6 separate regions of the Homo sapiens genome follow, and regions 1, 2, 3, 4 and 5 are each linked to region 6. The links are contacts of gene promoters, found by promoter capture Hi-C in blood cells and fetal thymus (Javierre and others, 2016). All regions are on one chromosome and are shown on one strand. Each heading gives the region's core, a stretch centred on a gene start or on the middle of the fragment in contact. The rest is flanking DNA. Distances are from core to core; before and after follow the strand shown. Region 1 holds the start of C16orf46 (chromosome 16 open reading frame 46). Region 2 overlaps DYNLRB2 (dynein light chain roadblock-type 2). Region 3 overlaps CMC2 (C-X9-C motif containing 2). Region 4 has its middle 3.0 kb from the start of GCSH. Region 5 holds the start of GAN (gigaxonin). Region 6 holds the start of MON1B (MON1 vesicular trafficking associated B).

The links. The method cuts DNA at HindIII sites, captures the fragments that hold promoters and counts their contacts. A CHiCAGO score of 5 or more calls a contact.
Region 1: a contact is called between a fragment that was not itself captured here and the fragment with the promoter of MON1B in region 6, in 3 of 17 cell types (non-activated CD4 T cells, naive CD8 T cells and activated CD4 T cells). The highest score is 8.1, in non-activated CD4 T cells.
Region 2: a contact is called between a fragment that was not itself captured here and the fragment with the promoter of MON1B in region 6, in 1 of 17 cell types (naive CD8 T cells). The highest score is 5.7, in naive CD8 T cells.
Region 3: a contact is called between a fragment that was not itself captured here and the fragment with the promoter of MON1B in region 6, in 2 of 17 cell types (neutrophils and naive CD8 T cells). The highest score is 5.8, in neutrophils.
Region 4: a fragment that was not itself captured here is called in contact with the fragment with the promoter of MON1B in region 6 in 1 of 17 cell types (non-activated CD4 T cells); the score reaches 8.2 in non-activated CD4 T cells.
Region 5: the fragment with the promoter of GAN here is called in contact with the fragment with the promoter of MON1B in region 6 in 1 of 17 cell types (total CD4 T cells); the score reaches 5.1 in total CD4 T cells.

The regions. Positions count from the first base shown.
Region 1 is chr16:81,076,348-81,080,672 of GRCh38, reverse strand. C16orf46 (chromosome 16 open reading frame 46) reads left to right here and starts at 3,435. Exons shown (of 4, transcript NM_152337.3): 1 at 3,435-3,537. C16orf46-AS1 (C16orf46 antisense RNA 1) reads right to left here. Exons shown (of 2, transcript XR_007065137.1): 2 at 4,075-4,249. RefSeq lists enhancers at 2,353-3,011, 3,124-3,173, 3,012-3,672, 3,764-3,903. The HindIII fragment of the contact is 2,067 bases long and covers 408-2,474 here.
Region 2 is chr16:80,541,351-80,545,606 of GRCh38, reverse strand. It overlaps DYNLRB2 (dynein light chain roadblock-type 2), which reads right to left. Exons shown (of 4, transcript NM_130897.3): 2 at 2,256-2,331. The region is part of intron 1 of DYNLRB2-AS1 (DYNLRB2 antisense RNA 1); the gene reads left to right. Among named protein-coding and RNA genes, the nearest start is that of DYNLRB2, 2.5 kb to the right of the region's middle. The HindIII fragment of the contact is 1,358 bases long and covers 1,990-3,347 here.
Region 3 is chr16:80,998,999-81,003,116 of GRCh38, reverse strand. The region is part of intron 1 of CMC2 (C-X9-C motif containing 2); the gene reads left to right. Among named protein-coding and RNA genes, the nearest start is that of CMC2, 5.8 kb to the left of the region's middle. RefSeq lists an enhancer at 3,757-4,118. The HindIII fragment of the contact is 2,873 bases long and covers 553-3,425 here.
Region 4 is chr16:81,097,414-81,101,281 of GRCh38, reverse strand. It overlaps the pseudogene PKD1L2. Among named protein-coding and RNA genes, the nearest start is that of GCSH, 3.0 kb to the right of the region's middle. The HindIII fragment of the contact is 2,961 bases long and covers 1,071-3,868 here.
Region 5 is chr16:81,312,690-81,316,504 of GRCh38, reverse strand. GAN (gigaxonin) reads right to left here and starts at 1,543. Exons shown (of 11, transcript NM_022041.4): 1 at 1,225-1,543. The coding sequence starts at 1,391. RefSeq lists silencers at 667-936, 957-1,016, 1,157-1,496 and an enhancer at 1,507-1,706. The HindIII fragment of the contact is 5,241 bases long and covers 451-3,815 here.
Region 6 is chr16:77,188,313-77,192,481 of GRCh38, reverse strand. MON1B (MON1 vesicular trafficking associated B) reads right to left here and starts at 1,292. Exons shown (of 6, transcript NM_014940.4): 1 at 1,224-1,292; 2 at 849-1,006. The coding sequence starts at 996. LOC124903725 reads left to right here and starts at 1,916. Exons shown (of 1, transcript XM_047435021.1): 1 at 1,916-2,574. The coding sequence starts at 1,916. The coding sequence ends at 2,260. RefSeq lists enhancers at 1,141-1,190, 1,211-1,500, 626-1,574. The HindIII fragment of the contact is 24,724 bases long and covers 1-4,169 here.

The sequences.
Region 1 (4,325 bases), core at 192-2,691, 3.9 Mb before region 6:
AAATTTTTAATGGGAATCTCAGGGAAGAGGGGGAGGTTGAATGTTCTAAATAAAGGTGGGAAGCAAAAGTGGCCATTCTAGAGTATGAAAGTCCGTGAGTGGTTATAGTCTCTGAAGAAGGTGGGCAGTTTTTTATTTTTCCCTTTTCCTGCCAAAGACACACATAACTTGCTCTGTAACAACCCCTCTTTTTTCAAAGAGCAGAACATTTGGCAACTTGCTCTTCCACTATTTAGAACACAGAGCCAAATCCACTGTCATTGATGTCACAGTGCTGCCAAAAATACAGGCTTTGAATGGCCCTCCAAATTGACTGAATCCAGGGAATTTAATTTTCATGACCTCATATTCCTTTTGAATGGTTTTGGCATTAGTAGAGCAGATTAATAGAAGTTTTGAAGAAAGCTTTCTAGTAACTAAAACTTGAGAAACTGAATAGGTTACCCTGCAAGTGTTAAATTTTTTTTCTGCTATCACCTCCCAGGTAGTTTTGTCGTTAGCTTTAGGTTTTGTTTTGTTTTTTGTTTTGTTTGAGACGGAGTCTCGCTCTTTTGCCCAGGCCCTCCACCTCCCGGATTCAGGCAATTCTCCTGCCTCAGCCTCCAGGGTAGCTGGGAATACAGGCACCCGGACCACGACCATGCCCAGCTAATTTTTGTATTTTTAGTAAAGATGGGGTTTCGACATGTTGGCCAGGCTGGTCTCAAACTCCTGACCTCAGATGATCCACCCGCCTCGGCCTCCCAAAGTGCTGGGATTACAGGTGTGAGCCACCGCGCCTGGCCAGTTTTAGGTTTTAATAAACCACTAGGGAGCTCTGCATGGGCATACTACTATGAAAATGAGGCTGGCCATTCAGATCAGTTCCTCAGCAAATCAGAATTTCTGAATTTTTTCAATTTCTTTTCTTTTTCTTTTTTTTTTTTTTTTTTTTTTTTTGAGATGGAGTCTGGCTCTGTCGCCCAGGCTGGAGTGCAGTGGCGCGATCTCGGCTCACTGCAAGCTCCGCCTCCCGGGTTCACGCCATTCTCCTGCCTCAGCCTCCCGAGTAGCTGGGACTACAGGCGCCTGCCACCTCGCCCGGCTAATTTTTTGCATTTTTAGTAGAGACGGCCTTTCACTGAGTTAGCCAGGATGGTCTCGATCTCCTGACCTCGTGATCCATCCGCCTCGGCCTCCCAAAGTGCTGGGATTACAGGCGTGAGCCACCGCGCCCAGCTGCTGAATTTTTCCAATTTCTATAGTTTTTCTGGGGCTACTAAAAAGAGCACAGTTTAAAAAATTATGCTAACTACAAGCGTGTCTTTTTTACTGTGTTCTTTCAGACCAAATCACACCTTCCTTCCCATACTTAAAGAGGTGCCTTTCTTTACACCAGGATTAAATTCCTCTTTCTTCCCTGCAACAGGCCTTTCCTGCCGCCCAGGCTGGAGTGCAATGGTGCGATCTTGGCTCACTGCAACCTCCACCTCACGGGTTCAGGTGATTCTCCCACCTCAGCCTCCTGAGTAGCTGGGATTACAGGCGTCCATCACCACACCCGGCTAATTTTTGTATTAGGGTTTTGAAATGGGGTTTCGCCATGTTGGCTGGGCTGGTCTTGAACTTCTGACCTCAAGTGATTGACCCGCCTCAGCCTCCCAAAGTGCTGGGATTACAGGTGTGAGCCACCGCACCCACCCATCTCCCTTTAATTTTAAAAAATAGATATGGGGTCTTGTGACACTTCCCAAGCTGGTCTCAAGTGATTCTCCTGCCTTAGCCTCTCCTGTGAGTAACTGGTATTACAGACGCAAGCCACCACTCCTGGCTTTTTTTCTTTAAAATACATTTTATGTGTTAGAGGAAGTTTACAGTCACAGCAAAATTGAGGAGAAGGTACAGTTCTGTACGCTTCCATTCTCCGTTTTTGCAAAGTGGGATCTTACTATAAGTAGAGTTTCTGGTATCTTGACTCAATTCCTATGTTGACTTTTTATAAACATAACTAGCCAAACCCTTGTCCCTTCATGTTTCCACTCAATCATGCTATCGGGCTTTTACCTGCTAAATGCAGGAATAGTTAGTGTGAAGGAAGTCAGGTTCTAGATCCTCCAACTTCCCCATGTACTTGCCGTTAGGTTATTTAATTAATATTCATTTAGCAAATCTTAGTTAAGACTTTTGGTATACTTCCCAGAAACTTTTTTCTAATATGCAAGGTCTTGCACTGTTTCCCAGGCTGGAGTGCAGTGACACAATCATAGCTTACTGCAACCTTCAACTCCTGGGCTCAAGGGAGCCTCCTGCCTCAGCTGGGATTCCAGGTGTGAGCCACGGTGCCCAGCTGTTTTCAATAGATCTGAAGGAAGACCAAAACAAATTGTCAACTGATAAAACATTTAAATGTTTTTGGTTAATACTTACTAGCTTGAGATACAATAAAACCCCTTTTATTTGCATCTTCCTATTTATGTGAACAAGGTACCTAAGCTTACACGTATGAAAAAAGTTGGAATAGAATTATAGCTGAATCCGTCTCATTGGAGCAATCACAGTGCTAGAGAACTTAGATACCAAAATTTTTTTTGAGACTTGAGTTTTGCTCTCCAGGCTGGAGTGCAGTGGTGCCATCACAGCTCACTGCAACCTCCGCCACCCGGGTTCGAGCCAGTCTCCTGCCTCAGTTTCCCAAATAGCTGAGATTACAGGCGCCCGCCACCACACCCGGCGAATTTTTGTATTTTTAGTAGAGACACGGTTTCGCCATGTTGACCAGGCTAGTTTCGAACTCCTGATCTCAGGTGATACACCCACCTCGGCCTCCCAAGTGCTGGGATTACAGGCGTGAGCCACCGCGCCTGGCCTAGATACCGGTTTTCTACAGCAGAAATAGTCACACTTTCTAAAGCAGAAGGGCTTTGGAGTCAGACCCGAGCTGGAGTGGGGGATGCTTTGCGATCTCTCTTCAGCAAGCTGTTGTTTTAGGGACGTGGGGCCACCTTCCTTTATTTGTATAAAAGATGCCACTGCCCACTTAAGAGCTGTGCTGCTCCGGGCCAGCAGTTCAGCGAGTGCCCGTCGGCCTGGTGCTGTCGGTCACGTAAGTGGGCTCTTTGAGGCTCACAACGCGTCCTCCCTGGACGTTCTGGGCCTGTTAAGTTTGTGTCCGTGGGAAACGCTCACGGCGGTTCCCCAGAGGGCCGAGGGAGAAAAGTGAGGACGTTTCTGGCCGCCTGGCATCTGCTAAATATCCTAGCAGGCACAAGGGCTCCCCAACGGGACTCGCCGACCCGAGAGCCCGGGTGGGCCTCAAGCCCCGCCATCTGAGACCCTCCGTCGCTGGCCCTTCCGGCGGCAGCGCCCGGAGCGGATAGGAGATGCCACGAACCGCCTCGCCAGTGCTAGGCTTTGTTGGGCTACGTCACTTCCGCCGCGGTCCCGCCCCCAGCGTGGTCGTAACCCAAGGCAACGGCCCATCCGGCAGCGACCTGAGTAGCTCTTGCCAGTAGGCCGGGACTAGCTGTCTCGGGGCCTTCCATCCGCTTGGCCCCACAGGTAGGTGTGAGCGGCCATTTCTCCACCCCTGGGGCAAGGCCCGGGACCACTCCAAAGGCGACAGAGCGAGAGTCCCTGCCTCGTTCGAAAGGAAGCGAGAGGGAGCGAAAGGCAGAGGCACTATGTGCCGGGGCTTCCCCAGAGCGGGCGGGGTCTGGGGAGGGGCGGGGCCTGAGGAGGATCCGTTGGGAGCGGAACCCTTTAAGGGTGGGTAGACGGAGGACGGGGAGGAATTCGAACGGGCAATCCAGAACGCTTTTCTGAATGGGATAGTTTGAAAGAAGGGCAGGCGTCTTTGTGGCACGGTAGGAACTGGCGGAGGAAGGGGAAGAGCTAGATGAGGAAAAAAGGCTTATGGCATAAAGGGAGGAGCCTGATAGAGAAAGGGGTGTGGCCTGCAGGAAGGGGCGGGGCTAGATGAAGAGGTGGAGCCGAGCGTGATGCGCCTGGGCTTTAGGGGTGGCAGGTGGAGCGCGTGTGTTTGATGACTTGCGCTTTGCTGTGGACTGTAAGCTGTGTGAGAGTAGAGAAGACGGATGCTGCTTTAGCTTTTTATTCTCAGTGCTAGGTACTTAGTGAATTCATTAATGTGAGTTGAAAAAGGGGAAGAGTTTGAGACTGAGATTGGAATAGATGTGGTCTGATCGGGAGGGATGGTGTAGAAACTGCGCTCCTTGGCATCATTCTGTGAAATACTTGAGGTTCCTGTGACCTGTAGGCATATAATAAGCAGAAGGCACATATAATTAACAAGGAGGATAAAATTTATACTCTTGGAAATATGAACA
Region 2 (4,256 bases), core at 1,419-3,918, 3.4 Mb before region 6:
AGGAACCTCAGGAAAATAAAGTGAAAATCACTTTTCATCTCACTACCCAGGGTGATCACTGTAACATATCCCTACCCTTCCTTTCCTATTTATTTGAAGTGTATGTGTGCACCTGGCCATAAATAGGATTAGAACATGCCGGTGACCGCTTTGTTCTCTGCTTTTTTCATCTAATACTGTGAGTAGTTTCCCAAGACACTAAACAGTCTTCAACCTTTTAAATAGAGTAATGTTCATCAAGTAAAATTAGTTACTTTAAAAATTCCCCTACTGTTAGGATACATTTATTTACTTATTTTTTCTGTTTATTTATTTATTGCTATTATATATGATGCCTCAGTGAGTATCCTCATACCTAGATATTTTCTTCATCACTCTTTAGGATAAATTGCTAGGAGTAAAATTATAGATCAAAGGGGGTGAATATTTTTCAGACCTTTGAGGCATATCACCAGGATTACCTACTTTAGACCAAGATCTTCCAAAGAATCACATTAGATGAGTGGTTCTGGCTGTCACAGGTGAATGCACCTGTACAGGGTTGAAGAGTGTCCCCCTAGACCCCCCAAATCCCCAAATTCAAGTCCAATATAAACCTCAGAAGGTGGCCTTATTTGGAAACGGGTCTTTGCACATATAATTAGTTAAGATGAGGTCACATTGGATTCGGGTAGGCCCTAATCCAATAACTGGGGTTCTTATAATGAAACAGACAGACAGACACAAAGATGAGAATGCTACGTGATGATGGCGGCAGAGATCGGAGTGATGTGTCTATAGGCCAAGGAACACTAAAGATTGACAACTACCAGAAGCTAGGAAGAGGTAAGGAATGGTCCTCCCACAGAGTCTTCAGAGACAGCATGAGCCTTCGGACATCTTGATTTCAACTTCTAACCTCCAGAACTGGAAGAGAATACGTTTCTGTTGTTTTAAGTTAACAGGCATGTTGTAGTTTGTTACTGTAGCCAAAGGAAACTAACACACCATCTCTATGAAATCACATGGACGGCTCATCTTCGGAGCTGTGGCAGAGTGTATGCAAATACCTGGAAATAAAATCAATGCAACCAGATCCACGTACTAGGGCTGGAATGCTTCCTGGAAATATTACGCATAGTTTGTGACTTACCTGGAAGGCAGATCTTAAATCCTCTCTTCCCCCTGATTATTCAAGCTCGAAAATTTATTATGTTCTATTATCTCTCTCACTCATTTGGCCTTGAGTTGCTGGTTATAAAACAAATGTTTTAACTGTATAAATGAATTAAAAATCCTCACATTCTCATAACTATTTAATTACTATCAAGTATTGGGTATTATGCCAAGCACTCAACAATTATTGTCTCATTTAACAATGAAAACCCCCAGTAAAATAGGTTATTGTCCATTCTTAGTGGTAAGGAGTTGTAGTTCAGAATTTAAGCAGACTTTCAGTTGGTAGTTGCTTAATAAATATTTACTGATGGATTTTTCCAAGGCACTGAGTTGGTAATAGGCCAATTCCATGGTTGCACCACAAATTATGTAAAGTAGCTACTCTTATTTTAACTAATGCTCTGGAATTTCTGGCACTCCTTGCCCTTACAAATGTCTGAATTAGCAATGAAACTAGCATGAACTCTTAAGAGGTTGCCACCATAGCTGAGCGTGGAGCAATGTGCCAAAGTAAATGTGATGTGGATTCTTAACAAGGATCGTGCAGCAAGAGCAAGTTTCTGGTAAGTCTACAGATTTCATAGTTGGAAATATGTAGGGCCTTCTTATGCTATATCCACAAAGACTATATTATAAATGATATCGTTAATTCTCAAAGATTTTTAAATAAAATATGTTCAAGGAACAAGTTCCATTTAAAATAAACACTGAAATTCTGTATGGTTCATAATGTTGAAACGCAAACAACCCACCAACAATGATATTCTCCCTATCTTCTATATGATAGTTTTATTGGCACTTCTGAAATGTTGGAAGAGAATTACCAAAGCTTTAAAAAGTAAACAATGTATAGTGCTTCTTAGGAGTATATAGAGATTTTTAGACATGTCTTATTCATATTTATGCCCCCAGATCTTAGCAGAGTGTTTGGCATATAACAGATACTCAATAGATGTTTGGTAAGTGAATGCCAGAGCTAAAATATATAAATATATTTTTGATGTCAAATTCGAAGATGTTTGTCTTAAGGACTAACACGGCAAACAGGTTCCTGGTTGGCTTCTGTGTGTCAAGAAGACAGCCTGTGATATATTTACCTTCTGCATTTACAACCATAGTTCCAATAACCCCTTTATGACTCTGGATCCTCTTTAAGGTTTCCTCCACCTCTGCCTGAAAGAGACCAGGAAGATAATTAACCAAAAGGGCCCTGTGGTAACTTCAACCCTAAGGAGAATAATGTTTAGCAAGATACCTACTCTCCTATCTCCTTAACCTAAGGTGCCAGGTGTGATAATCTCAGATTTTTAAAAGACAGCTTAGAAATTGTCAAGTCCCACATAAATACCTACGTAAGACCTCCTGGATACAATCCTGATGAATCTCTTGGCTTGAACCCTTGTAGAGACAGAGAGCTTACTGCCTCACAGGAGTTCACTCCATTTTTATCTGTTTCCATTTACTAGAAAAGTATTCTTTACATTGCATGGAAATTTGTCCCAGATTATCTTTCATTCATTGACCCTGCTGTATTCAAATGAAAATTCCTTTTCTACATTACAGTGCTTTAAATATTTATAGAGCTATATCATGGCCTCCCTCTGTCTAAAAGTAGTCCTTATTGAGAAATCTTATTTTCATTAATGTGACCTAATCAGTTCGGATGATTAAATTTAAAGGATAGTCTATAAAAACAAAGTATTCCAGGATTCTAGGATTTTCTTGATAACTATAGCTTGCGTCTCAGTGCAAGCTGAATGTTCAACTATGAGTGATTATTCTGGAATCTATTATTGTGTTTTAAACTCATTCGGAATCTTATGTGTAGAGTGTATTGTATGTTTTCTTCCCCTGTAGAAAACTCAAAGACAAGAACGATCTTTTCCAAACCTGCAAATTTTTCATGACTGAGCAATCACTGGATATTTTGAATTCTGCAAATTCTCTTGATGAGGGTTTGCTATATTCTTTTTTCCTCAGTATTGCACAGGTGAACATTTTGTTACTTCAAGATAGTTTTCCTTTGTACTTGGTATGGGCAGGAGCACTTATTTTCTCTATTTCAGCATCAGAGCCAAGGTTTTCTTGACTTTAGGCATTTGTGTACTAGATTCATGATTCTTGCCATTATGAATGCCATGTATACTATTTATCTAGGTGTTCTTTAAATTATCTCACTGCTAAAAGCTTAAATAAATGCATTTTAAGAGGAAATCGTATGTCACTACCACAAATGGAAACCTGACGTTATTCCTCATAAATAGAAATAACTGTAAAACAAACAAAATGAACAAAATGAAGAGAGAGCCTATCATTAAATTCTACTGCAATGAAAGCTCTGAGCCTGAGGCCTGCTCTTCGGATGAAAAAATGGAAATTTCCAAATGACAGTGGTATTAAGGACCTAATAGCAACAGAAATTTTCTCCTGTATGTAGTCTGAAGGTTGAACAAAATGGAAGAGGAATAACTTTCTCACGATGTGATTCACTCTTATTTAGCATTTCTCGGCCATCTTATGTAGCAACGAATGTTTGCATCTGACTTTGAGAAACACTACACTAAACCGTAAGCGTTGAACAGGGGATCAATAATTCACTGCATTTTGGGCAATCTTTAAGACGATGTCCACAGCTTCTTACAGCCACTGTGTCCTTATTTATCTTTCTCCCTTTACTTATCTCCCAAACTCCTTTCTTTTCTTTCCCTGGCCTTTCCATTTCTCCACCCAGTTGTTTCTCTTCTCATGATTTGTAAGTGCTCCTAGTATAATTTCTTAATCCCCATCTCCAATCCCCGTTTCATTCTTCTCTTAACGCCCTTTGCTTTCCACAGTCTCTACTTTTTTTTTTCTTACCTCTTTTTCTGGGGGGGAGGGGGGCGGGTCTCCCATCACTTCTTTCCTTTTTCTTTATTTCCCTTTCTTCTTTCTCAGTATCTTCCCTTCTCACCCTTCCATTCCCTTGCTTTCCCTGTCCCACCTCTTCCTTCTCTCTAAGGGTCTGATTTTTTTTCCTCTCCATCTCGGCCTCCCGCCCCCTCTTTGGAAACTTTCCTGGCTCCCCGGATTTCTCACTCCCCTGAGCATTCTTCATCCTC
Region 3 (4,118 bases), core at 740-3,239, 3.8 Mb before region 6:
TGTATGCACCAACATTTAGGCAAAGCCAAGTGACACAAAGTGGATGGAAGTGAGCATAGGTGACGGGTAGGTAGAGGGCAAGGGGAGGAAGAACATATCTAGCTAAAAATATGTGGTAGAAGAAAGAAGGGAGTGATGGGGAAAGCAAGGAATCTGTTGGATAAGGGATAAGGTGAGTGTTTAGAGCTTTAGGTTAAGTAGTAGCTTCTTACCAAGAATAGGAAAAGGAAATGAAATTAAACCATTTTATTCTTTGACATAGTCATCTAGGCTAAGAAAGTAGAAGGGCCTTATAAATATATACAATTATTATTTGTCAATTCAAAGTAAAACTAAATAATGTGAATTAGAAGGGAAGACGTTTTATTGGTACCCTACCCTGATTGACAATAGCATATGTATTTGAGGTAAACTTGTTATAGAGGGAGGAAAATATGTACCATTTTATGTACTTAGGCTTATATACATCTTTGCATCTATTAATATTGTCTCAGTCAAGTGTCTTCTCAGGTATTTGTCAATTAAAGAAATCATTTCAGTACATCATAAGCTTGTTTCTGAATTGTAAAGGCACACATTTGAGTGCCGGTTGATAGAAATGTGCAAAAATATTTTGTCAAATACATTTAGAAAATGTTAGAGACATTTTCTAGTGATTAAACCAGTGTCTGTTTTCTGTTATTGTTGTTTTTGAGATGGAGACTTGCGCTGTTACCCAAGCTGGAGGTCAGTGGTGCCATCTTGGCTCACTGCAACCTTGCCTCCCAGGTTCAAGTGATTCTCCTGCTTCGGCCTCCCAAGTAGCTGGGATTACAGGCGCCCACCAACACGCCCAGCTAATTTTTTGAATTTTTAGTAGAGATGGGGTTTCGGCATGTTGGCCAGGTTGGTCTTGAACTCTTGACTTCAGGTGATCCACCTGCCTCAGCCTCCCAAAGTGCTGGGATTACAGGTGTGAGCCACCGCATCTGGCCTATACCAGTGTATGTTTTCTTTAGGAAAAAATAAGGCAGAAACCAGAAAACTAACACTTCACATAAATGTAGGTGCAGAATATTGGTACGATATTGGATAACTTAAATTGCTGAACTGTATGAAACTTAATTTTTCTAAGGCAAAAATTGATATCATTGGAAGGATCTTGGAGTCAGTGGCAGGCAAACAAAATTTAAACTTGGCTGCATTTTCTTTTTTCGTTTCAAATGAATACTTAACTAGGTGCAATGGCTTTATTTGTGGTCTTCAGCTGTGGTGTGTGTGTGTGTGTGTGTGTGTTTAGTAGTTACTGAATAGTACAGGGACCTACTGCATTTTTATAAGTTGCAATTGAAATAGTAGCTATGCTATAATCCTTTGGAATTATTTGTTCAGACAGTTTTTTGTTTCTGTTGAGTGGGAGGTGGATGGGCAGTTTGAATTTCTCACAGGTTTTTTTTTAACAGCTTGAGGTATAATTTACATACCATAAAATTCGCATGGTGAAATGCACGTAACATAAAATTTACCATCTTAACCATTTAAATGCACAGTTCAGTGGTATCAGATACATTAATAATGTTGTGCAACCATCACCACCGTCCATCTCCATAATACTTTTTATCTTGTAAAACTGCTTGTTAAACAGTAACTCCCCATTCATCTCCTCCTGCCCTTCCACCTCCCTCTGGTAACCACCATTCCACTTTCCGTCTCTTTGATTTTGACTACTTTAGGTGCCTCGTATAAGTGGAATGTTAAAGTATTTGCCTTTTAAAAAATATATAATTTCAAATTTTATTTCAGATTTTGGATATAAGTAATGTGCAGGTTTCTTACATGGGTACATTGGATGACACTGAGGTTTGGGGTACTGTTGATCCCATCATGCAGGTAAGTGAGCATAGTACCTAATGGTTTTTCAGCCCTTACCCTCCTTCTACCGTCTATTAGTCCCCAATGTCTTTTGTTGCCATCTTTATGTCTGTGAGTATCCAGTGTTTAGCTCCCACTTATAAGTGAGAATATGCCATATTTGGCTTTCTGTTGCTGCGTTAATTCACTTAGGATAATGGCTTCCAGCTGCATCCATGTTGCTGCAAAGGACATAATTTCGTCCTTTTTTATGGCTGTTTAGTATTCCATGGTGTATATGTACATATTTTCTTTATCCAATCCATTACTGATAGACACTTAGGTTGATTCCATATCTTTGCTATTGTGAATAGAGCTACAAAGAACTTATGAGTGCATGTTTTTCTTTTTGTAAAACGGTTTATTTTCTTTTGGCTATATACCCAGTAATGGGATTGCTGGATCTAGTGGTAGCTGTTTTAAGCTCTTTGAGAACTCTCCAGACTGCTTTCCACAGTGGGTGAACTAATTGACATTCCCACAACAGTGTATAAGCATTCTCTTTTCTCACAACCTCCCCCAGCATCTGTGTTTTTTTGACTTTTTAGTAATAGCCATTCTCACTGATGTGAGGTGATATCTCATTGTGGTTTTGATTTGCATTTCTCTGATGATTAGTGATGTTGAGCATTTTTTCATGTTTTTTGGCCACTTGTATATCTTTTGAGAAGTGGCTGTTGATGTCTTTTGCCCACTTTTTTTTAAAATTTGTTTATTTGTTTTGTTTTTTCGAGACGGAGTCTCACTCTGTTACCTAGGCTGGAGTGCAGTGGCGCCATCTTGGCTCACTGCAACCTCCGCCTCCTGGGTTCAAGCGATTCTCCTTCCTCAGCCTCTCGAGTAGCTGGGACTACAGGCGCCCGCCACCACACCCGGCTAATTTTTGCATCTTTAGTAGAGATGGGGTTTCACCATATTGGCCAGGCTGGTCTCGAACTCCTGACCTTGTGATCTGCCTGCCTTGGCCTCCCAAAGCGCTGGGATTACAGGTGTGAGCTACCGTGCCCAGCCTTTTGCCCACTTTTTAATGGGATTATTTATTTTTTACTTGTTGAATTAATTTCTTTATAGATTCTGGATATTAGACCTTTGTTGGATGCATAGTTTGTGAATATTTTGTCCTATTCTGTAGGTTGTCTTTATTCTATTCATAGTTTCTTTTGCTGTTTTGAGATCTTTAATTAGGTTTCAGTTTTTGTTGTAATTGTGTTTGAGTACTTAGTCCTAATTCTCTTCCGAAGGTGAATGTCCAGAATGGTGTTTCCTGGGTTTTCTTCTAGGATTCTTATAGTTTGAGGCATTCTGTGTAAATCTGTAATCTATCTAGAGTTAATTTTTGTATATGATGAAAGGTAGGGGTCCACTTTTATTCTTCTGCATATAGCTAGCCAACTATCCCAGCACCATTTATTGAATGGGAAGTCCTTTTGCCATTGCTTATTTTTGTTGACTTTGTCAAAGATCAAAAGTGTGTGGCTTTATTTCTGGGCTGTTATGTTCCATTGGTCCATGTGTGTGTTTTTGTAGGAGAAGCTTGCTGATTTGGTTATTGTAGCCTTATAGTCTGAAGTAGGGTAATGTGATACGTTTGGTTTTTGTTCTTTTTGCTTAGGATTCTTTTGGCTATTTGAGCCCCTTTTTGGTTCCATATGAATTTTTGGATAGTTTTTTCTAATTGTGTGAAAAAATGCCATTGGTAGTTTGATAGGAGTAGTGTTGAATATGTAGATTGCTTTGGGCAATATGGCCATTTCAGTGATATTGATTCTCCCAATCCATGAGCACGGAATGTTTTTCTATTTGTTTGTGTCATCTGTGATTTCTTTCAGCAGTGTTTTGTAGTTCTTCCTGTAGAGATCTTTTACCTCCTTGGTTGGATGTATTCCTGGGTATTTTATTTTTTTGGTGGCAATTGAAAATGGGATTGTATTCTTGATTTGGCTTTCAGGTTGAACCTTATAGTGTATAGACGTGCTACTGATTTTTCTATGTTGATCTTGTATCCTGAAACTACTCAAGTCATTTGGCAGAGTCTTTAGGGTTTTCTGGGTATAGAATCATATCGTCAGTGAAGAGAGACAGTTTGACTTCTTTTCTTATTCGGATGCCTTTTATTTCTCTTGACTGATTGCTTTGGCTAGGAAATAAGTACTGTGTTGAATAGGAGTGGTGAGAGCGGGCATCCTGTTCCCTTGTTCCGGTCCTCAAGGGAAATGCTTCCATCTTTT
Region 4 (3,868 bases), core at 1,302-3,801, 3.9 Mb before region 6:
TCGGAGGAAGGGGAGATCGTAGATTTGCTGCTGATGAAAATACTCAGTTTCCTGGGCATTAAGTCTAAGAGAGAGGAGCCTGGAAGCAGCAGGGAGCAGCCTGGGTCTCTGTCCCAGACTCGCCACTCTCGACCAGCACAAGCTTTGCCCAAGGACTAAGCTGTTCGTCCACACGCCACCATCTACCAGTGGGGACGCCCAGGGCCTCGGGCGTACGCTTACCAGCGACTCTATAGTCTCTCTAGGTCATAGCTTTCATGTCCATTGAAGAATTACCAAGCCCAGCAAGTAAAAAAAATTACAATAACAGAGATATATGTAAAATTGCCAATACTATGAGAGCTTCTTTGTTCAAATGTATTTCCTCTTATTATAAATAAAACAAATATTACATGGAGTTTGGAAAATTTCCTGCACAGACTAATTATTTCGTCTTTTTAGTCCGTTGGGGGTTGCTTTTGAATGATTCTAGTTCAGGGCTTCTCAAACTGTCTGAGAGATGCTAATGGATGCTGTATTAGTTTCCCAGAACAATGTATCACAAACGAAGTGGCTTAAAACGACAGAAATGCATTCTGTCCCAGCTCTGGAGCCTGGAAGTGTGCAATCAAGATGTTGGCAGTGGCCGGGCATGGTGGCTCACGCCTGTAATCCCAGCACTTTGGGAGGCCGAGGCGTGCGGATCACTTGAGGCCAGGAGTTCGAGACCAGCCTGGCCAACAGGGTGAAACCCTGTCTCTACTAAAAATACAAAAATTAACCAGGTGTGGTGGCGGGCGCCTGTAGTCCCAGCTACTCAGGAGGCTGAGGCAGGAGAATCCCTTGAACCCGGGAGGCGGAGGTTGCAGTGAGCCTAGGTGGTGCCACTGTACTCCAGCCCGGGCGACAGAGCATGACTCCGTCTCACAAAAAAAAAAAAGAAAAGAAAGAAAAAAGATGTTGGCAGTGCCATGCTCCCTCTGAGGGCTCTAGGGAAGAATCCTTCTTGCCTCTTCCAGCTTTTGGTGTTGGCCAGCCAGCCTTGGTGTCCCTTGGCTTCTAGATGTGTCACTCCCAGATGGGAAGAAGCTTGCTGGGAGCCTGTGTTCCTTCTCCTTTTCTCAGCACACCAGCCATATTGAATTAGGGGCCCACCCTAGTCCAGGGTGACCTCATCTGAACTAATTATAATACATCTGCAGGGATCCTGTTTCCCAATATGGTCACATCTGAAGAACTGGGACTTAGGACTTTGACATACCTCTTTAGGAGCCACAATTCAAACCAGAACAGGTGTCATTCCTCCAAAAATGTTTCTGGGTCAAATAAATATGGGGAATACTGGTTTATAAAAGTTTTTTTGTTTGTTTGTTTGTTTGTTTGAGACAGGGTCTTGCTCTGTTGCCCAGGCTGGAATGCAGTGGCATGATTTCAGCTCACTGAAACCTCTGCCTCCCAAGATCAAATGATTCTTGTGTCTCAGGCTTCCCAGTATCTGGGACTACAGGCACACAAGAGCATGCCTGGGTAATTTTTGTATTTTTTTGTAGAGACGGGGTTTCACCATGTTGGCCAGGCTGGTCTTGAACTCCTGGCCTCAAGTGATCTGCCTACCTAGGCCTCCCACAGTGCTGGGATTACAGGCATGAGCCACCGCACCCAGTCTACTGTATTGTTATAAGAGGAAAATATGTCTATCAGCTCAAAGAGATGAATGGGCCCCTCTCAAAACACCTGGAAGAAATGACCACCTGGAATTTTCCAGAGCTTATACTCAATGGGCAACGAGATGACCTTTAAAATCTCAAACCAGGAGGTTACAAAGATTACTAGGTAGAAAAAGAAAAAAAATTTTGACTGTCTTCAATGCTTTTTACCAAAAGAAAAACACATGTCATATTTTTTGGTGGAAGGGCCTTTTTGTAGCCCATATGTTGATGTTGATGTGTGATCTTTTTCTTCCCATCACATGAGTTAGTGAAGCTGAGAATAAATATGTTAGGGTGTAAGTGGCACGATGCTGCACTGTCTTGTAATGAAACAACAATAGAAAACAACATCTTGACATTAGAGAAGGTAGCCAAGATCTGTAGTGCAGGGTAGACCAGCGTGATCCAGTCAGCATCCCAAACGAAAGCAAGCGGAGCAGAGCTTAAGAGCAATTGCTGGCCAGGCACGGTGGTTCATGCCTGTAATCCCAGCACTTTGGAAGGCCGAGGTGGGTGGATTACAAGGTCAGGAGTTCGAGACCAGCTTGGCCAACATAGTGAAACCCCATCTCTACTAAACATACAAAAATTAGACGGGCGTGGTGGCACGTGGTCCTGTAGTCCCAGCCACTCGGGAGGCTGAAGCAGGAGAATTGCTTGAACCCGGGAGGCAGAGGTTGCAGTGAGCCAAGATCACGCCACTGCGCTCCAGCTTGGGCGACAGAGCTAGACTTCGTCTCGAAAAAAAAAAAGAAAAAAAGAAGAGTTGCTTTCTAATCAGTGTAGAGGCCAAGGTCTACTACTGCCACCTAGGAGCTACTTAAGCCACAAAAACGCCTCCCCGATCCCACTCCTCGGAAGTGCCTTCACCTCTGAGCCTCATCTATGAAATGAGTGTAACACCTGCCAGAAAGAGGTTTGGAGAGGATTAAAAAGATGTGTGCATAGTGCCAGGCACATAGCAAAGGCTCAATAGATGGGAATGATTTGCTCAAAAGAAAGTGGGCATGACGGCCCTTGCAAGCCACTGCACAGATGTGGTGGCAACCCTAAGTTCATAGCAGGGCAGAAGCTCAGTGCAACAACGTATGGGCTCCCCAAACACACACACACTCCATGGTGTGCACCCTATGGTACTGTTTCCGGTGTTTGAACAAGAACAACTCCATTTTGAATATGGGCTGGGTAAAATGAGGCTGAGACTTGGTGGGCTGCATTCCCAGGAGGTTAGGCATTCTTTTTATTTGTATTTTTTTCTGAAGCAGAGTCTCGCTCTGTCACCCAGGCTGGAGTGCAGTGGCGTGATCTCGACTCACTGCAACCTCTGCCTCCCAGGCTCAAGTGATTCTCGTGCCTCAGCCTCCTGAGTAGCTGGGATTACAGGCACCTGCCACCATGCCTGGCTAAACTTTGGATTTGTAGTAGAGACGGGGGTTTCTCCATGTTGGCCAGGTTGGTCTCGAACTCCTGACCTCAAGTGATTCACCTGCCTCACTTAGTCACAGGATGAGCTAGGGTTGGCACAAGATACAGGTCACAAAGTCCCTGCTGATAAAATAGGATGCGGTAAAGGAGCTGGCCAAAACTCACCAAAACCAAGATGGCGACCTCTGGTAGGTCTCACTGCTCATTATACGCTAATTATAATGCATTAGCATGTTAAAAAAAAAACAACTCCCACCAGCGTCATGACAGTTCACAAATGCAATGGCAACGTCCAGAGAAGTTACCCTATAGTCCAAAAAGCGGAGGAACCGTTAGTTCTAGGAAATCCCTGCCCCTTTTCTGGAGAACTCTTGAATGATCCACCCCTTGTTTAGCATACAATCAAGAAATAACTATAAGTACACTTAGTCGAGAAGCCATACTGCTGCTCTGTCTACGAAGAAGCCATTCTTTTTTTTCTTTACTTCTCTATTAAACGTGCTTTCACTTTATAGACTCTCCCCAAATTCTTTCTTGCATGAGGTCCAAAAACCCTCTCTTGGGGTCTGGATTGGGAGCCCTTTCTGTAACAGTACTAAAGGTGTGTGTGTAGCTTAAGGTGTTTTTCAGAACAGTATTTCTTTGCTGACTCATGGCCACTCCATAAAATCTGTGTTAAAGGTGAGGTTTTTCCCAGAACCTAATTTTTTTCTGACTTCTTGGATTGGGATGATGACTTCGGCTTTTCTCGGAAG
Region 5 (3,815 bases), core at 294-2,793, 4.1 Mb before region 6:
CGCCCCGCCCCCCCACCCCTCCACACTCCCCACCGCCAAAGAGCGCAAATGGATTCACAAAACAAATCCAAGAGAAACCAGAAGTTACAAGGGCACTTGAATTTCTTCTAAGTTTAGCACAGATATCTCCCCAATGCAAAGGTTAAAAGTGTAGCGTGCGTGGTGGTTTTGCTGGGACAAAGCGCTAAGAATACACATCATTTTGCTTTTTCTGACCTGTCAATTGTAGTGATATTCTCTACCACTAGCTTATATTTAACCAGCTTACTGGTCAGTTTCTCCAGTTTTTAGCATTCCCCCCTTTCCTTTTATTAAAACAGCAACCTAGTTTGCAAGAAGGTTGCTAAAAGAAAAGATAGTCTCCTGCAAGATCTGATACACTTGTATAAGCACTGTCTTATCAACCTTTTAATTAACCTGGTTAGTTGAGTTGGCAAATCAGGTTAAGCTTTGCTTTACTAAAGTATTAAAATGCCCTTTGTCGCAAGGCTCTCACGGTCCTCGGGTTGTAACAGCATCCTGAGAATTCGCTACAGTTTACTTCAACGTGTAACTCCTCTTTTAAACAGTTACCAGAATGGAGCGGAAAAGACACGTTTGGCAAGGAGAATTTCGCCCGGAGGTTCGGACTACCAACCCAAGGAGAACATCGAGAGGGTTTTCTCTGCCTGCACCCAGCGAGGCGCTGTCTGTCTGGCCTCCCAGCGGGCAGGGCGCTCCCCGCCTGGTTGGCGGCGCCGGCCCAGCCCCCGCGCGTGGATTCAGAGGCGAGCGACTGGCGAACTTCAGCGGGGACCGCGGGCCCGGCCTGGGCGAGGGGGTGACTCTTCCCCGGCGCGGCCTCGCCCAGCCCGCAGGTGCGGGTCCCGGCCGGCCCAGGACGGCGTCTGGGGGCCTCAGGGTCTCCGAGGTCGGGCGCTCGCCGCGGCGGTGGGAACCGGGAGGGACAAGGCGGGGGATCGCGGCCCGGGTCCGGGGACAACTCCAAGGGGCGCGGGGGTCCAGTGGGGAGCGCGGGCCTGGAAGCCACAGAGGCCGCCTGGGGGACGCGGTCAGCGGGGCCGGGTTCCGGCGCTTGCCGGGAGGGACGCCGCGCCAACGGTGACGCGGGGACCCCGGCGCCGGGGACAGGGGACAGGGTCTGGGGGCCACGCCCGGCCCGGCCGCCCCGCCTCCGGCTCCGGGCAGCACCGCCGCGCCCGCCCGCCGTAGCCCCCTCCCCACCTGATGTACGGGCTGGCCGCCGCCAGGATGTTCTTCTGCACCGGGATCTCCTCCCCGTCGAGGACCAGGTGCGCGTCGCAGAAGCGAGACTCCTCGCGGAAAGAGCTGAGCGCTCGCAGCAGACGCGCGGCGTGCTGAGGGTCAGACACGGCACTGCCCTCAGCCATCGCGGCGCCCGCTCCTCTGCCGACGGGTCCGGCTCCCGACACCGTCCGGCCGGACCCCTCGAGCGGCCCGAGTCCTGCGCGCGCGCCCGCCCGGCCCGGCTCTCCGCGCTCTGAGCAGAAGCTGGAGCCCCCGGGACGTGCCTGTGCTATCCGCGGCGCGCTGGGCCGGCGCCTTTAAGAAGCCGCGTCATGAAGTCATTTCTCCGCGACGCCCCCGCACCGTCGCTCCCCGCCTTCTCGCCTCCGCTGCTGGAGATGGCCAATCAGAAGCCTCCTTCCTCCGCCCGCCTGACCAGCTGCGGCTGGGTGCAGCGGAAGGTGTCTACGGATGAGATAGGTCGCTCCCGCGATGGAGGGATGTGCGGGCGGGCTAGGATTCCGTGGTTAAGCCTGTGGCCTCTGGAGCCGCGAGTTTGAATCCTGGTTGCAGCTGTTCCACTTACTAGCTCTGTGGCCATGGGTAAGGTGCCCATCCTCAGTTTCTCCGTCTGCAAAATGAAAGCGAATTCTTAGTGTTGTTGTGGACTCATGAGATGATGCATGGAAGCAAGGGCGAAGTCGCTGTAGCTTTCTTTATTTATGAGAGAAAAGGAGCTGCCCAGGTGAGAGGACAAAAACCCGAGAAAACAGACCCGGAAAAGATGGTTTTGGTTGCGGGCTAGGAAGGAGATGTAGCAGATGAAGCTGGAGAAGTCCGAAGGAGGCCTTAAATTTTGCAGGGCCTCCTTGGTGTGGGAAGGAGTTTGGTTTCTGCAGTGGTGAAGAACCATGGAAGTACCGTATTTAGCAGGGGATTTTGTGCAGGTCACTCAGCTCCTGCGTGGAGAATAAGGCGGGGATGGATGTGCTAAAGGCAGATCGATGCTTAGGTATTGCAGGACTAGAGAGAAGGGAATGGGCACCTGGATGAAAGGGTGATGCGGGGGCGGGGGTAGACAATAGTGGATTGTTTTAAAAGAAATTGTGAGGGAGAGGGAGTTAAGGATAAATATTCTGTTTGAGTAACTGCATGCATGTTTGCACCTTTCAGGGAGAGCTAGGAAATGCTGAAGGGGTGGGCAGTAGAGAGGCAGATGTTTAGATTCAGACAGGCTCCCAACCCAGTGAAGATCAAAGCTGTGATAGAAAGGATCGCTGGGTCAGCTCAGCTGGCAGGCCAAGCCCCACGGTATCTGAAGTTTCCCTGGAGGTTGCTCAGGGCACATGGGAGTGTGGAATGTAGCAACCATTTTGTGCAAACGTTAGGGACTCCATAAGCCTCTAAAAAATTAGCAATTGTATGAGGACTCCGGACCAGAAGAATGTGGCTAGCATTCCAGGCAAGACAGGATGGAATTTTCACTGTCCTTCAACCAACTGAAAGGCTCCAATAAAGTCTTGGGTATTTACCCTGAACCAGCCAAGGCTTTGGAGTCACTGGCAGGAATCCGAGTATCTAACTGTTTTCAGGGCAGAATAGATGGGGAGGGTACGGCTGTGGAAGACACATGCATTTCCACTTTCTTCTGTAAATGCAGCTCAGTGTTCCCGGATGCAATGATAAAGATGTCTAGGATTTGCTTCAAAACAAAACAAAGGGATGGGGAAGCAGATGGGAGTGTAGATGAGTCAAAAGTGGCCGCAAGTTACTAATTGTTAAAGCCACGTAATGGGGATGTGGAGATTCGTTGTACTGTCTCTATATTGTTGTGGATGTTTAATGGGGATGTGGAGATTCATTGTACTGTTTCTATATTTTTGTGGATGTTGAAAAATATTTTCTTCTTTCTTTTTTTTTTTTGAGATGGAGTCTCCCTCTATTGCCCAGGCTGGAGTGCAGTTGTGCAATCTCTGTTCACTGCAACCTCCGCCTCCCGGGTTCAAGTGGTTCTCCTGCCTCAGCCTCCCAAGTAGCTGGGACTACAGGCATGTGCCACCATGCCTGGCTAACTTTTGCATCTTTAGTAGAGATGGGGTTTTACCATGTTGGCCAGGCTGGTATCGAACTCCTGACCTTGTGATCCGCCCACCTTGGCTTCCCAAAGTACTGGAATTACAGGCATAAGCCACCACACCCGGCCGAAAAATATATTTAAAAAGGTAAGAAACACACAAGACAAGCAGCTTGGACTTATCTTCTCCATGATACCTACCCAGTATCCCTGTGAGCAGCTGACATTCCTTTCTCCAAGCAGTTGCTGTATTTTGAACATTGCTCGAGCAAGAAACTTTTTATAATGGGTTTATTTATCCATGTCACCTGCTATACTATGTTTATTGTAGCTCAGCATGATTTCCAGGTACCAAGCACAGTACTTGGTGCGTAATAGTGCTAACTGAATGTTGGATGGATGGAGGGATTAAAAAAAAGAAAAACACCTGAATATCAGACACTTAATAAATGTTTCTTGGGAGGCCGAGATGGGCGGATCACGAGGTCAGAAG
Region 6 (4,169 bases), core at 43-2,542:
GACACATCCATTTATTCCCATTGATTTCCATTCATCCCCCAATGACAACCATTATTATCCATGTGCAACTATGTCTCAATAATTTTCCCATAAAATCCCAATAATTGCATATTCTGTCACTGACATTCACTGACACTCCCATGTCCCCAAATATCTTTACTCCCTCCTAATAACTGCTCTTACCTGCTATTAATTCCCAAGTCCTCAACCTCCCCATCCACATTTATTCTCAGTGAGGTCCACTGATCCTTCCCAATGACTCCATTTACATCCACTAATTCCAAAGTGATCAATGGCACAGACTTCTCAGTGACTTCCATTAAATCTCAAATGAACAACTTTACACATCCACTAACATTTGGTCCCTTAAAGACTTCCCCAACAGTCTACAAGTGACTTCAATGATGTAAATACTCTGAGTGCCCATCGAACTCCACTGATTCCCCTTCCCACTTCTATTATTTAATAAATAACACCCTACTCCTCAAAAACACTAACTTCTCAACAGTCCTCCTCTGTTGAGTCTATTGACTTTCTTCAGCGCATTCTTTGATCTAAACACTCTAAATCCTCAGTGACCCTCTTTGGTCCTAACAGCCCCCTTTTTGATTCCTCAATGACCTAAACTCACACCAAACCCCCAGTGAACATCCGTTGACAGCCAATGACTTCCTCAATGATGTAAACTACACCATGTGTCCACAGTGACCTCCTCCTGACCCGGCGATGGTTTAAGCCACTTCTCTTAAGTCCCAAGACTCCCTACTGGTCACCCACTGACCCTTCCCCCGTCCAACAATGACAACCCCTAAGGATTCCTTTTAAGACCCCACTAAGTGGAGTCATACCTGTTTCCTCCAGGCCCTCGTCTTCGGGATCCGGCGGGACCGCGTGAACCCCTCCACCTTCTCTAGCTTCCTCACTGGGGAACTGCGTGTCCTCCAAGTCCTCCGCGCCCCCGGGGGCCGGGGCAGCAGTGTCTCCTCCGACCTCCATCTGCACATCCCTGAGTGGGAGGGGAATCGAGGGTGACGGGCGGTGAAAGAAACTTCTGAAAAGCCTTTATAGAGTCAGGCCCCCTTGGACACACTCCTACTGCTCATTTCCCCACGGATTTCAATAGGACGAGACATCCAAAATCATGCCCAAATACGTCCCCCCTCCAACACTTTCCGAAAAGAGGAGACTCTACTGGGCCTCAGGAAATAGAGATATACAAACACCTGTTTTAACTCCGAATCTCAATTGGCCGGATACCATTACTTCCCCGTAGCGGCGGTGGCATCACACTTCCGGGTGCGGCCCGGGAGGTGCCACACTTCCGGGTACGACCCCTCCCAGAAGACACTTCCGGTTGCGGAGCTTTATTGGCTCCTCGCGGCGTCCCTCTCCCGCCGCCTACGGGTGTCCCCTCATAGTTGAGATGGCGCGGGCCACTTCGGATCTACGTCAGGTCTGTTCGGGAGCGCAATGAGACCTCTCTGCACTCCTTTCAACGGATCTGGCTACGGCTGCTAACCCGGGAGAGCGAGGCCCACTTCGCTTACCAGTGGTTGGCGTGAGGGGGGACGCGGCTCGCTCTAGCCAATCCCGGAGTACATAGGGCGCGACCGTCTTCTTTCTGGGCCAATCGAGATGAGCCGCCTCATTTCCCCGCTGTCTACTCCCCCCGCCAAATCCTAACCAATACTGTGCGTTGTGTTGCGTTTGCACACGCCCATCCATTGATTGACGTCTCCCTCGACCCAATCGAAGACTCGAGCCTATTCCTTGTTTCACAAGAGGACTTTTGCAGCGTCAGTCCCGATGGATACCTGTGCCGGACCCACAAACGGGCTCTCCCAGAACTGAGGCAACTCCACTTTCTCTTATCCCTTAACCCTGCCAAGAAAGTCAAGGGAGGGGAGAGGCGCGAATGCTTGACGGGCAGTCGCCGCTTCTAATCAGCGTGCCGCGCCAGCAGCTCCGTACCCTGCCGGGTTCCCACGTCTACCTGCAGCTGGGGGAAGAACTCTGCCAGCCCAGGGCAGGGGCGGGCACTCACTTGGACCAGGACCTGCCCGACGCCCCCGGTCCGCCGGGCGAACGGGTCGTCACTTTCTGTGATCAGTTTGGGAAAAGGCTTGGGGGCCCTGCCACGGGCCAGTGTGGGAACCCAGGGTTCGAATTCCCGCCCCGACGCTGCTTCCGGACCGAAAGCCCCCTGAACGCCTTGCCCCAAGTGCCCTGGGCCTTGGTTTCTCCATCAGTGAAACAATGATGGGAATCGCTTGACGTGAAGTGAGTGGAGGTGCTGGCACACTTCGAGTGATTGCTAAGGGGAAGCCTTTGGTACTAGTTAGGATAATTATTTTAATTACAGTATAGTTAGGGTAATGAATTCCAAATACCAGTGTAGCATCATGTGCTTTATATACAATAGGTAATCGATAAGTAATAAATATTAAATTTATATAACAGAAACAATGGATAAATTTATGTGCATACAAAATATATTTACCTAATACATTTAGAAGTATATAATATATAATAAACATGTAAAAAAGTACAATAAAATAACATCTCATAAGCAAACTTATTTATTAATCTCGCTGTGTTACCCAGGCTGGAGTGCAATGGCAAAATGTTATTGACTCATTGCAGCCTCCGTCTCCCGGGTTCAAGCAATTCTCCTGCCTCAGCCTCTGGAGTAGCTGGGATTACAGGTGCCCGCCACCACGTCCGGCTAATTTTTGTATTTTTAGTAGACATGGGGTTTCGCCATGTTGGCCAGGCTGGTCTTGAACTCCCGACCTCAGGTGATTCACCCGCCTCAGCTTCCCAAATTGCTGGGATTACAGGAGTGAGCCATCATGCCCAGCCCAGGGCTACACACTTTAAACAACCAGATCTCGCAATAACTCCCTCAGTCACTGTCACCAAGAGGATGATGCTAAACCATTCATGAAGGATTCACCCCCAAGATCCGATCAACTCCCACCAGACCCCACCTTCAATAATGGGGATTACCATTCGACATCAGATTTCGGTGGGAACATAGATCCAAACCTTATCAGGGGAGTAGAGGAATAGTTACGCCTTCATCTAGCTTTGTCAATCTGCATTTTTACCTCAGAGGAAGCAATCAGATATGCATTTGTTTCAGGTGAGCAGAGGGATGACTTGGGGTTCGCTCCTTTGTCTCGCACCTGTGAAGATAAACTATCAATTTACGTTGTCAGGGTAAAATTCAACAGAACCGTTTTAGGGTAAAGATCTTGCAGCCCACAAGGAATCCCTAGAGGGCAAATTATGAGGGAAGTATGTAGCTTTATCTTTGTAAATATCTTATTTAGGGATAAACTGGGAGGCAGGTTTGCCTGATGCAGTTCCCAGCTTGACTTTTACCTTTGGCTTAGTAATTTTGGAGTCCTGAGATTTATTTTCCTTTTACACCTGCCTTGTATTTCAACAAAACCATATCACAATTAGGCTCCTTTTAAAAATTCTTGCTGATGTGCTCTGTGAACTTTAAAGATTGTTTTCCAGGGAAAATGGCAGAACTAAGAACAATTGTCACACAGTCTCTTATCTGAAACCCTTAGTGCCAGATGTGTTTTAAATTCACACATTTTCCTGATTTTAGAAATGAAATTAGGTGCATGTGCCATGTATTATATAGAGCCCAGCAAGGGACTGGGAAACACCTGATAACTAAACTCATTTTTTCTGAGTGAAACTTTTTATTACTCCCAGTAAGAGAAACACTAAACCGTCTTATGTTAGTTTAGTTCAGGTTTTACCTCCAAGTGAGCTTTTAAAAATTATTTTTCTGGAGCTTTTTGGATTTCAAAACTGCAGACGTAAGTTTATGGAGCTTTATTAGCATTCCGTGTTTGATGATTTGCCACTCTAAACAATTTCTACAATCAAAGATGAGAGATGGGAACAAGTGAAGGAACATAGAGCCATCTCTGGTGTGTCTGCCTTTTTTTTTTTTTAATCAGAAAAGCAAAGACCAAAAATATCTCAACAAACCTCTCCAGTAGATTTTAAGTTATGGCTCATGGCTTGAACTGCAGAGTGTTTACAAATTGTAGACACACACACAGACACAGAGTTTTTTTCTGTTTGTTTTTTTAACAGATCAAAGATGTCTTTGTGACATTATATATGTTTATACTTCCTGA